Linked DNA regions of Homo sapiens: region 1 is linked to region 2. The links are contacts of gene promoters, found by promoter capture Hi-C in blood cells and fetal thymus (Javierre and others, 2016). All regions are on one chromosome and are shown on one strand. The core of a region is centred on a gene start or on the middle of the fragment in contact, and the rest is flanking DNA. Distances in the headings are between cores, read along the strand shown.

Region 1 (6,773 bases), core at 1,678-4,177, 550 kb before region 2:
TCAAACTCTTGACCTCAAGTGACCTGCCCGCCTTGGCCTCCCAAAGTGCTGGAATTACAGGCATGGGCCACCATGCCGGACCCAGCATATATGTTTATCATTCAATATTTGTTGAACAGTAAACATATGAATCGAATAATAATAATCCTAATAATAGCATTATTAATAATAAGAACTAACACTTAATCAGGGATTACTATATGCCATATATTTCTCAAACAGCTTTGCATTTATTAGTTCATTTAATATTCCTATCAACAATTCTCCCCATTTTACAGATGATGAAACCAAGGCTCAAAGAGGTGAAGGATTTTTGAATCCACGTTTCCAGATTTCAAATCCTGAACTTGGACGTGGTTACTTTGAGGGTCAGAGCAGAGGATATAGATAAAAATACATACATGTATTTTATATACATATATACTATTATATAATCAAAAAAATTATTACTATTATTATTATTTTGAGATGGAGTCTTGCTCTGTCACCCAGGCTGGAGTGCAGTGGCTTGATCTTGGCTCACTGCAACCTCCGCCTCCGGGTTCAAGCGATTCTCCTGCCTCAGCCTCCCTAGTAGCTGGGATTACAGGTGTGCACCACCACTCCCCACTAATTTTTGTATTTTTAGTAGAGATGGGGTTTCACCATATTGGCCAGGCTGGTCTCAAACTCCTGACTTCGTGATCCACCCGCCTTGGCCTCCCAAAGTGTTGGGATTACAGGTGTGAGCCACCACTCCCAGACTTAAAAAGATTATTTTTAAAAATAGATACTAGTTATGGAGCTCTTATCCTATGTCAGTCATCATGATAAGGGCTGTTCATGCCTTTTTTTTTTGGTTAATTGCCACAACCCTATGAACAGATGCAGAAACTGAGGCTCAGAGAAGTTAATGACTTGGCCCAGAAGACATAGCCAGTACTATGAAATAAGTTACCCTAACTCTTAGTAAACTACACTGCCACTCTATAGATACAAATTGCCTTCATCATCATTATCAATCAGCACAGAGAATAAGAGGCACTCACCATCAGGGAAATTCAAATCACAACCACAATGAACTACCACTTCACACCCACTAGCATGGCTATAATAAAAAAGACAGACAATCAGCCGGGCGTGGCGGCTCATGCCTGTAATCCCAGCACTTTGGGAGGCCAAGGTGGGCGGATCACTTGAGGTCAGGAGTTTGAGACCAGCCTGGCCTACATGGCGAAACCTCATCTCTACTAAAAATACAAAAATTAGTGAGGAGTGGTGACGCACACCTGTAATCCCAGCTACTCATGAGGCTGAGGCAGGAGAATCGCTTGAACCGGGGAGGTGGAGGTTGCAGTGAGCCAAGATTGCGCCACTGCACTCCAGCCTGGGCAACAGAGCAAGACTTCATCTCAAAGACAAAAACAAAATGACAACAACAAAACCCAAAAAGACAGACGATAACAAGCGTTGGTGAGGATGTGGAGAAATTGGATCCCTCATACTCTGCTGATAGGAATGTAAAAAACTGCAGCTGCTGTGAAATTCAGCTCCACATTCCCCCCAAAGGTGAAACATAGTTAACATATGACCTAGCAATTTTTACTCTTAGGTACATATTCGAGAGAAAGGAGAATATATATCCACATAAAACCTTGTACACAAATGTTCATGTGGCATTATTCATGATAGCCAAAAAAGAGAAACAACCCCAATGTCCATCAATGGATGAATGGATAGAAAAAAGTGGTCTATCCATGCAATGGAGTACTACTCAGCCGTAAAAAGGAATGAAGTATCAGCCGGGTGCAATGGCTCACGCCTGTAATCCTGACACTTTGGGAGGCCGAGGCAGGCAGATCACTTGAGTCCAGGAGTTTGAGACCAGCCTGGACAAAATAGTGAGACCCCGTCTCTTTAAAAAAAAAAATTGAATGAAGTATCAACACATGCTACAACATGGATGAGCATTGAAAACACGCTAAGTGCCACAAAGGACCACATATTATGTGATTCCATTTATATGAAATGTCCAGAATCGGCAAATCCATAGAGGCAGAAAGGAAATTGATGGGTGGGAAGGAGGAGGAACAGTGTTGGAAATGATGGTGAAGGAGTGTGGGATTCCTTTTGAGTCGATTAAAATATTCTAAAATTGATTGTGGGGATGGTTGCACAACTCTGGGAATAATCTGAAAATCATTAAATGGTACCCTTTAAATGGGTCAATTGTATGGTGTATAAATTATATCTCAGTAAGTTTCTTTTAGAAGAAACAAAAACCAAAAAGCAGGGCCTTCCTGACGTTGGTGAGGACCTAAAGTTATAACACATTTTCAAGCCTGGTCCTATTCCTCCCAAGCATGGTGACTCAGATGCCAGCATGATCACCAGGCGTGCCCTGAGATCCTCGCCTCCTCCCTGGGGATCCAGGGTGTTGCCCTGCGCTTTCCTACCTTCCCCAGGCACGCCCTGCCCTGCGCGCCCTGGCGGGCCTGAAGTAGAGCAGAAAGGAATCCCGCTTGTCCTGTGGCTTCTCTCTGCTGCAGCCTGGCACCGTTTCCTCTTGCCTGCTGCTGCTTCCTCCCTCCCGCCCAGCTGGCTGTGAGAGCACGTCTCAGATTCGAAAACCATGTGAGATTCAGAATGTGCACCTGAAGCTGCCCGCTGGGGCTTTCTGTGCTGTCGGCCACTGCAGAGATCTGGGTCCTCCCCAGATCCCACTTACCAAACGTAGGAAAAGATGATCACGTGGAAGAACCACTTAATGGTGCCATAATTCATGCTCTGGATCCGAGTGACTTTGTTCGTCTCATACTGGAAAACATCACTGCAGCTGCAGCAGGCCGGCATGGTGACAGCCTCCCTCCCTGCGCGGAGCTGGACCAGAGCTCTACTCTTCCTGACAGGGCCACAGCAAGCCCCCTCCCAGTAACTGCAAAATGAAACGTACTGGTTTTTAGCAGGAGTCTTTAACTTCAAGCTCCTCCAATGACTGCAGAGTTGGGGCGGGCCCTGGCAGTGGCCCCACATGTGGCTGTGATAAACAAGAAGCGCCAAGTCCTACGGGCCTGGCTGGCAGATGACCTCACCCCAGCTGGCCTCCCCCAGATGCCTACACAAAGATGGTGTTCAGAGGATGGGCATTTTTAGAATTCTCCCTTTTCCCCCCTTTCCTTTCACTTTTTTGGTCTCATGTCTCTTGGGAGAAAGGGGCAGCCTTGCAAATGTCACAAGACTGGGAGCTTCCATTATGCCTCAGAAAAGGACTGAGATCTTTCCATTGCCTGAAGCCCCACTCAGAGATTGATTCATTCATTTCTACAACCCTTTATTCAGCCCCTGATGTATAGGAGCTCTGGGTAAATGAAGATCTCCCCCTCTTCTTCCACCGCCCCTTATAATACTCTGGTCTGCAGTTGGTGGGGGAAATCAGATTTGCAGGGGTAGGGGTGGTGGGGGTGGAGGGGCTTTATTTTTCTGCCAGATCTTTCATGCTTGACCCTCTGAGTTACTCTCCACCCTCCTCTGCACCCCGGCAGGTCGATCTATGACCTAGACCAATCAGCCAAAGATCACCAGGGACACAGTGGCAGTCCAACAAAGTTAGGTTTGTTGACCTATTCAGTGAGGGACACCACCCACCAGAAGAGCTACGCACATCACCAAACAAAGGAAAACAGCAATTTATTATAGGATTCCGAGGAAAGTGGAGTTGAGATAAAATCTAAATGAAGTCATGTTTTGATGGACTCAAAGCAAAACAGGTTTGTACAAAGCAGTCAACTTCAGTCTGGATTGCAAAGAGGACCCAGGGCCCTGTTTCCTAGGAAGCAACATAGCTAAGATACATGTCAAATGTGTCCAGAAAATCTTTATCTGAAGCTCTGCTCCTGAGTTGTAAATTGAGGCTGCTTCTCTGTGTCAAGATGACTTAAATCTTCCAGGCAAAATTGGAATATTTCAGTCTTAGTCATGTAATTTCAAACAGCAAAGTTTCTGAAGGTCTCTGATTTTAAAGGACAATGTTTCAGCAGTCACTCAAAGATGCAGGGTTGTATTATCACTTTACAGCTACAGAGAATTATTGTTCCCTGTTATCTTTACAGCTGGCTTGATCCCTTTCTGTTATTCCAGCCTGCTAAGTGGCCGGGTAGATTTTCAGTTTTTCAGTCTAAACTAATTGTACTTTCTCACACATACAAACTGCATCAGGGTTCCCCTCACCTTCTGGCTTCCAGTTCAGGAGACTGGAGAGCAGTGAGGATGGACGTGACTCCCTGGCCCTGCCCTTCTCAGTTGCATATAGGCAGGGCTTCTGGGCACCACTCCCTCCTTTAGTCCTGGGAGTGGTAAGGGCTCCCCACTCTTACCAGCCCCAGGAAGCTCACTATCTCCTATTGCTTTTTCTTAACTCTGTCCACACCTTTGTAAATGGTTCCATCATTAGTTACCCCACTTGAGTATGCCATTGCTTTCCTGCCGGGAATCTGAGTGATACGGTCATCTTCATCTGTAAAAAGAGGAGATTCACAGGTAAAGCCTGATGCTTAGAACATAGGCTCTAGGGGACTAATGGCCTGGCTTCCGATCCTGGCTTCACATCTTACCAGCTCTGTGACCCTGGACAGCTCTGTTTATGCTATTCATTCACTCATTCCCAAGAGCACCAGGAATAGTAGATATGGCAGTGAACAGGCAGACAAGTCAAATGTCCATCAGCTGATGGATGGATACACAAAAGCACGAAAGCCCATACAAGGGAATATTATTCAGCCATAAAAAGGAATGAAACACTGACCCATGCTCCAACATGGATGAACCTTGAAAACACTACGCTTAAGTGAAAGAGGCCAGACACAAAAGGATACATCTTTTACGACTCCATTTATAGGAAATGTCCAGAATAGGCAAATCACTTCAGTGTTGCTCTTGCTACCACTCAAAGACATCTATTTTCTTGTCTTTCTTTCTTTCTCTTTTCTTTCTTTCTTTTTTTTTTTTTTTTTTTTTTTTTGTTTTTTTGAGATGGAGTCTCCCCCTGTTGCCCAGGCTGTAGTGCAGTGGCAAGACTTTGGGTCACTGCAACCCCTGCCTCCTGGGTTCAAGCGATTCTTGTGCCTCAGCCTCATGAGTATCTGCAATTACAGCCATGCGCACGCTCAGCTGATTTTTGTGTTTTTAGTAGAGATGGGGTTTCACCATGTTGGCTAGGTTGGTCTCGAACTCCTGGTCACAAGCGATCTGCCCGCCTTAGCCTACCAAAGTGTTGGGATTACAGGCGTGAGCCACTACACCCGGCCTGTTTGTTGTCTTTCTGCTGCACTCTTGCACTGGTCCCTCATGCTCTCCCCTCTCCACTCCTTCAGCCCTTGTCCGCTATTTCATCACTGCTACCTCCTCCACTCCATGGATTCTGTTCTCAAAGAGGTTACCAAAGACTTCTCAGTTGCCAGACTGGGTGGATATATTTTATTCCTTATGTTACTTGATCTCTTGGATGCATTCAACATCACTGGCTACTTTCTGCATCTTGGACCAGTATTTTCCCTTGGTTTCCATGACTTTCCTGGGTCCCATGTTCTCCTGGTTTCTCATTTGTACTTCTATGACTCTTTATCTTATCTTTCTTTTTAAAAAATTAATTTAATTAATTTATTTTAGAGACTGGGTCTTGCTCTGTCGTCCAGGCTGGAGTGCAGTGGCGCAATCATGGCTCACTGCAGCTTCAAACTTCTGGGCTCCAGTGATCCCCCTACCACAGCCTCCTGAGTAGCTGGGACCACAGGCACATGCCACCAAGCCTCGTTAATTTTTTTTTTAATTTTGTAGAGATAGGGTCTTGCTATGCTGCCCAGGCTGGTCTCGAACTCCTGGCTTCAAGTGATCCTCCTGACTCAGCCTTCCAAAGTGCTGGGGTTACAGGCATAAGCCACTGCATCCAATCTTTGTCTTATCTTTCTCTGGCTCTCTTCTCCCTGTAAATATCAGTTCCAGCAAATTGTCTCTCAGCACTTCTTATGATTCTATCAGGATAGGACAGGTTATGCTGCAATAACAAAGCACTCTCAGTGTCTCATGGCTTATAGCAGTGATGAATTAATTCTCACTCACACTATATGTCCATCATGGGTCTCCCAGATGGCTCAGCTCTCTGTAATCACTCAGAGATCGAGGCTAACGGAACAGCCATTGTCTTGAACTCTTTAATGAGAACTCTGGAGAGTCTCACAGCAGCAATGAAATGTTCTGACCTCGTGATGGAAGGAATATAAAGTTACCAAAAAAAAAAAAATTGGGGATTGAACGGTGGATTTCTTAGTCTTGTGAGTGTGTGGGTGTGTTTACAATTTACAGAAAATCAAGTGACATTCTTCAGCAGAAAAGGGAGTTTTTTTTTTTGAGGAAACACTTATCTCACAGACTGCAAGTGCAGGAAATGTGCCCAACCTCATGAGAACCTATTAATAGAATCAGAAACCAAACTGTCCTGTGCTGAGGTTGCTCTTTCAGTTTGTCTGAAGCCCGCCTCTGTTTGTCTCTGTGTGCCCATTGCGAGTCTCTCTAAACACTGGCTTCCTCTGTTTCTCCCAGGGCACGTGGTTCAGCAATGCTCTCCAAGTTAGGTTCCACAGTTCAAATGCAAGCCCAGATCCCCTGCCCAGTTCCAGAACTCAAGGGGAATGAATCTGATTGGCCTAATTCTTTATCCCTGGTCCAATCAGCTATGGCTGTGGGCGGGGCCATAATCACACAGGGCGTCAAGGGCCAACCTCCGTTGGGGGAGAAGGGAG
Region 2 (6,400 bases), core at 1,102-3,601:
TTGTCCGATAAATACACACATACAGTGGACCCCTTCTGGTAAACACTGAGGTGGCCTTTTGCTATAACCAACGATGCTGCAAGCAAGACACATCCTCATTCACCTGTCATTTGGCACAAATGCGACAATCTCTGTGGGAGAAATTGCTGGTGGAGAAATTGCTGGGTCAAACAGTAGAGCCCTTGTAATTTCAATTAATTTTTGGATGAGCGAATTCTCACAGCAGGCGGGGACAGGGAAAGAGGTTCACAGGGCAGCGAGGACAAAGGAGGAGCAAGATGCAATGTTTTGACTGAAGTCCAGGGAGGGCTGCATCTGTCCCAGCAACCTGGAGGATGTGGCGGCTCCCCAAGCCCCTGGCTAAGCAGATGGAGGGTTTAATTTCATCTAGATTGTCCCCATAAGGGTTTTACAGAAAATTGGTTAAGATTCGAGGAGTAGGAGCCTCTTACGAGCAGTGGCTGCTTAATAAAATGCTGGAGCAGATACAGTTTCCCTTTGCCACCATCCACAACAGCAGCATCTGGGCTCTGACAGAAACCCCTCGGATGCCAAAGTCACCTCAGAATGGTACCCCAGTTGCGCTCTCCTTCCTCAGCATCTTTCTAGGTCCCCGAATACAGAGTAGAGAGCAAGGGGTTAAGAGCACAGGTTTTAGGGTAAGACAGATGTCCACCCAAATTTACTGTGTCAACTTGGGCAAGCCATTTTCCTCCCTGTGTCTCAGAGGATAATGGGTCCTAACTTCATGAGGCTGATGTGAGGACTCAATCAATCAAACCCAGAAAAGACAGTGGCCAGCACACTGGGAGAGCCCAATTAATGATCACCCAGGAGACACGGATGAAGAATAAAGACAGTGATCCCGGCTGGACACGGTGGCTCACACCTGTAATCCCAGCACTTTGGGAGGCCCAGACAGGCAGATCACATGAGGCCAGGAGTTCGAGACCAGCCCGGCCAACATGGCAAAACCCCATCTCTGCTAAAAATACAAAAAATAGCCAGGTATAGTGGTGGGCACCTGTAGTCCCAGCTACTCAGGAGGCTGAGGCAGGAGAATCGCTTGAACCTAGGAGGCAGAGGTTGCGGTGAGCCAAGATGGAGCTACTGCCCTCAAGCCTGTGGGACAGAGTGAGATCCTGTCTCAGAAAAAAAAAAAAAAAAGGCCGGTCGCGGTGGCTCACGCCTGTAATCCTAGCACTTTGGGAGGCCAAGGTGGGTGGATCACGAGGTCAGGAGATGGAGAGCATCCTGGCTAACACGGTAAAACCCTGTCTCTACTAAAAATATAAAAAATTAGCCAGGCGAGGTGGCACGTGCCCGTAGTCCCAGCTACTGGGGAGGCTGAGCCAGAAGAATCGCTTGAACCCGGGAGGCAGAGGTTGCAGTGAGCTGAGATCGCGCCACTGCACTCCAGCCTAGGCGGCAGAGGGAGACTCCATCTCAAAAAAAAAAAAAAAAAAAAAAAAAGGAATCTGAGAAGTCCCAGGACGACTGTAATAATGCTAACAGTAATGACAACAGTGACCACCCCATTGATCCAGGGGATACCTGACTCGGCTAAGGGCACAGGCTGGGGTCAGACAGACGTGGATTGGGCTCTATTGTGCACCTGGGTGAGTTGTGATGTCGCACCTGGGTGAGCTCACCTCTCAGAGCCTCATCGGCTTCCTCACCTGGGGAGGATAATGGCTCTGCGGCCCGGCTGGGGAGAGAACCGAGGAGGGGTTGGGGTGTGAGCCCCCGCCGCTGCCCCTTCGCGGCCGGCATTCCGGCGGCGGGCACGGCCGGGGCACACCCCGTCGCCGTCCAGCGGATCTCCGGGCCCCGGGGAAGACGGCCGCTCCTCCTCCATGCCTCCGCGGGCGGATTCCCCCGCAGCCTCCCGCGCCGCGCAGCGGGGACCCGGGTGATTGCAAACAGCCGCCGGCCTCATTAGGAGACTTATAATTAGCGGCTGGCGCAGCCCGAGCCGGCGCGCGCTAATTACCGCGGGGAGCCCGCCCGCCCGGCCACCGCCGGCGTCTGCACCCTCCTGGGCCAGAAGGGGCCGGGCCTGGTCCAAGACTGGGAGGCCGCGGGCCGTGCCAATGTGCTTCCTCCCGGGGCTGTGCCTGTGGGGGAAAAGTAAATCATTTGTTCAGAACAGCGTTTACTTGCCGAGGGCGGTGGCACACGCCTGTAATCCCAACACTTTGGGAGGCCGAGGCGGGCGGATCACTTGAAGTCAGGAGTTTGAGACCAGCCTGTCCAACATGGTGAAATCTCTACTAAAAATACAAAATTAGCCGGGCGTCGTGGCAGGCGCCTTAATCCCAGCTACTCTGGAGGCTGAGGCAGGAGAATTGCTTGAACCCGGGAGGCAGAGGCTGCAGTGAGCCGACATGGCGTCACTGCACTCCAGCCTGGGCGACAGAGCAAAAAACTGTCTCAAAAAATTCCTGTTGTTTGGCTATATTTTCTTTTTTCTTTTCTTGTTTTTAAGACAGTCTTAAAAATCAGTCTCAAAAAACAAACAAAACAAAAAAAACAAAAACAAAAAAAGGGCTTACTATGCACTCGCTGTGCCAGGCATTTTGTCCACATGACCCCGCTTAAACTTCATATCCACCCACGAGGGAGGAACCATTGTTATCCCATTGCACAGATGAGGAAACTAAGATCTGAGACATGAATTAACCCTCCTGACAGCACCTGGCCGGGCCAGTAAATGACGGAGTAGCGAATCGAACCTCCATCTGTCGTCTCTCCATCTTATTACACTAAATGGACGAGTGAAATCCTGCACGGGAGAGCACCAACCGTGTTGACCAGAACAAGGAGTCAGCTGGCTTTGGGTTCGAATTCTGATCCTGCTCCTAACTGGATACGAGGCTTTGGTCTGAGCCCCAACTGCATCTATAAAATGGGCGAAGCATTGCTGTTGAAATGAAGGCTGGGAGGAGTGAAATTTCTATGAGGGGTGGAGCGCTCAGGAGTTGGGGGTGTCTTGCTCTCTCCGCGCACTGCGGACCTCTGGCGCCCCCTGTTGGCCAAAGGAGGATGTCGCAGACACTTTCTGGTGAAAAGTTGTTCTTGGGTGGGGAGTGCCGTCACTGTCACTGGTCCCTTGGCAGGGCCACGGCGTTCCCTCTTCCTATTCTTTTCTTCCCTACCTTCCCCCACATCCCTCCTTTAAGGTGGCCAAGAAGAGTGGGAGATGGGAAAATTCAGAACTCATTCCAGATCTTGCAAAAATAGGTTGTGAAAGCTGCCCCCATTACGGACCTCACAGGACCAGCCAAGGCCAAGACACTTCTACAAATAATCAGGGATGGGCATAAAGACTAAGCTACAAAGCCATGCATCAAAGTATTGGGTATAACAAGAAAATCTAGAAATAATGTAAACGTCTACCAAAGGGATACTGACCAACTTCACAATGGTACGTCCAAACAATGCAATACTGCACAGCTAAAAAACAGTATTGTCGCTGAAGAGCTGACATGAAAATATAGCCAAATGGCCAGGCGTGGTAGCTCACGCCTGTAATCCCAGCACTTTGGGAGGCCGAGGTGGGTGGATCACCTGAGGTCAGGAGTTCAAGACCAGCCTGGCCAACATGGGGAAACCCTGTCCCTACTAAAAATACAAAAATTAGCCAGTTGTGGTGGCACACACCTGTAGTCCCAGCTACTTGGGAGGCTGAGGCAGGAGAATCGCCTGAATCCAGGAGGCAGAGGTTGCAGTGAGCTGAGATCGTGCTCCAGCTTGGGCAACAGAGTGAGACTCCGTCTCAAAAAACTAAATAAATAAATACAAAAATTAGCTGGTCGTGGTGGCAGGTGCCTGTAATCCCAGCTACTCGGGAGGCTGAGGCAGGAGAATCGCTTGAACTCAGGAGGCAGAGGTTGCAGCCAGCCTCCTGGCTGCATTTATATAAAGTTTAAGAACAGGCAAAATTAATCTAGCAGGGTAGAAGTGGTAATAGTGGCTGATAGCAGTAAGCAATTTGACTGGAAGAGGGCTCAGGGAACCTTCTGGGATACTGGAAATGCTCTTTATTTTAATCTTGGAGGTGGTTATAGAAGTCTATCCATATGTAAAAATTCATTGAGATGAATACACTTAAGAATATGTACTTTATGTAATACCCCATAAGACATTTTTTTTAAAATACTTAAAAATAAAAGAAAAAACATAATTTAACAGAGGGCATAGTTCTCAAGCTGTTTTCTCTGTCTCAGGACCCCTTTACACACGTTACTGAGGGTGCCCAAGAGCTTTTAGTTTTGTGGGTTATATTTACTATGGACATTAAAGTTGAGAAACGTTTAAAAAACAATACACAATTCCTAGAGCAGTGACGTCATCACGTCAAGCAGCCTCTGGAAAACTTGACTGTTCACTCAGAGAGAATGAAAAAGACAAGTAACATCTTAGCATTATTATGAAAGTAATTTTGACTTCGGGGACTCCCAAATCGAGTGAATTTAGGAAATCTCAGTGGTCCCCAGACGGCACTTTGAGAACCACTGGCGCAGGGAGAAAATGACAGAAGAAAACACACTACACGACAACAGTTATTCTCTCTCAGTGCTGGGATTATAATTTATTTGCTTCTTTGTGCTTTTCTGTCAAAAAAAAAAGGTAAACGGAAATGGAAAATACAATGACCACGTATTGTTTCTGCGAGCAAAAAACGAGACGGCACACTCGCCTCCCTAAGATTGCTGAAAGGCCCAAACAGCAATAGCATATTTAGCTGTATGGAAGAATTAAACTGAGCTCAAACCTGAAAATAAAAGTCCGATTTCCCGTTTGTCAATGCCTGGGCTGTGAGGTGCAGGGTCTTGCCCTCAAAAGCTCCACCGTTCACCTTGGGGAGAGAATATACTCGCATACATAACTGTGGTGCAAGGTTCCCAGGGCCCCAAGGGTAGCGGCTACATCCTACACACTATTGTAAACTTCAGTGTGCAACAGAACCATCCATTACAGCTGCAAGGCGCTCCATCCCGGGGTTCAGCCCTCAAACTAGTCAGTGACCCTCCGCAGGACGCATGCGCGCTTACAAACGCAGTTGGGCGGGGCTTGAGAGAGCTGACAGACTTCGGCCTCTCAACTTTCTAGCTCCGCCCTAATATCCTGTCTCCTTCTCTGAATGGCTGAAAGGCTGCGGAAGCAAGCTTCCCATTGGCAGCGGACAGAATTCACATCCGGTTTGCACGCCGGACCGGAGAGCGCGGAGGCAGCCATGGTGCGGTTCAAGCACAGGTAAGCATTCCCTTCCAGACCCTCCCAGTGCCTTGCTGGGTCCTCGCGGCCCCGCTAGTGTCCACCTTCCTCTCGCCTGCCGCAGGTACCTGCTCTGCGAACTGGTGTCTGACGACCCCCGCTGCCGCCTAAGCCTCGATGACCGAGTTCTGAGCAGCCTCGTACGGGACACGATCGCCAGGGTGCACGGAACTTTCGGCGCAGCCGCCTGCTCCATCGGCTTCGCGGGTGCAAGGGCGCTGGGGGAAGAGGGGAACCCGGGAGGATGGCGGGATGTGGAGGGGGCAGGCGCCGGAGGAAGAAAGAAGGGGCACGAGTGGCCAAGCCCGTGCACCGTTTTTTGTAAGGTATCTCTTTAAGCGCCTGGGACCCCAAGCGAGAGTCCGAAATTAGCAGAGCGCTAAAAGGAGGGGCCCGAAGGCAGTGGGGCTTTGAGCTAGAAGCCTCTTTTTACCTGCTTGACAGGTAATTTCTGTAATTGGTTGTGATTGAATTTGATAGGGTAGAGAATTAAATGAGGGAAGCTGTGTATACTTCCTAGTAAGAGCTATTATATGACCGATTACATTAACATCATATGGAAAAAAATTGTCAAAAGTACTCCGGGAAAGCCCTTAAATAGTTGGTAAAGTACAGAACACATGATTGTCAATATATGTAAATACAGGATGAGCTAGGACAGAGGGGCCCTTCTTTCACACCACTTAAATTAGTTCCCACTTTAACCTTGTTTGAGATTGACTTCTGGAGAGTTAAATGCAGATAGACTTAACTCTCCTAAGTCAGGTGAGACTGAGAGCTGACTGCTACAATAATTACGGAGCCCAAATGCAGTAAAACAGCCTGTTTTTCAGGCAAGGGTTTTGTGGGGGTTTTTCCTAAATTAAAACGGATCGCCTCCTACCTGCTCCTATTTATTGAATTAACTAGTGAATTAGAAAGCATTTTCAATTCTAAATTCATTCACCAGTTCTGAGTGGTGTGCAACACAGTGGGTGTTTTGGCTTTTCTCTTTTACTCGCTGATAGATCTACGTGCCACTTGCCTACAACATACTTTTGGCACATAGTAGGCTCTGTTACTCCAAAGTTTTCCTTTTTTCGAGACAGTCTGGCTGTTGCCCAGGCTGCTGGAGTGCAGC

Evidence for each region. Contacts are between HindIII fragments. The CHiCAGO score rates a contact against its expected background, and 5 or more counts as called.
Region 1: the fragment with the promoter of P2RX7 here is called in contact with a fragment that was not itself captured in region 2 in 4 of 17 cell types (total B cells, naive B cells, total CD8 T cells and 1 more); the score reaches 8.8 in total B cells.

The regions. Positions count from the first base shown.
Region 1 is chr12:121,129,030-121,135,802 of GRCh38, reverse strand. It overlaps P2RX7 (purinergic receptor P2X 7), which reads right to left and starts at 2,927. Exons shown (of 13, transcript NM_002562.6): 1 at 2,708-2,927. The coding sequence starts at 2,832. The region is part of intron 2 of LOC105370032 (a long non-coding RNA gene); the gene reads left to right. RefSeq lists an enhancer at 6,523-6,773. The HindIII fragment of the contact is 14,919 bases long and covers 1-6,773 here.
Region 2 is chr12:120,580,202-120,586,601 of GRCh38, reverse strand. It overlaps POP5 (POP5 ribonuclease P/MRP subunit), which reads left to right and starts at 5,200. Exons shown (of 5, transcript NM_015918.4): 1 at 5,200-5,259; 2 at 5,345-5,487. The coding sequence starts at 5,240. RefSeq lists silencers at 1,668-1,737, 1,768-2,137. The HindIII fragment of the contact is 5,644 bases long and covers 1-5,173 here.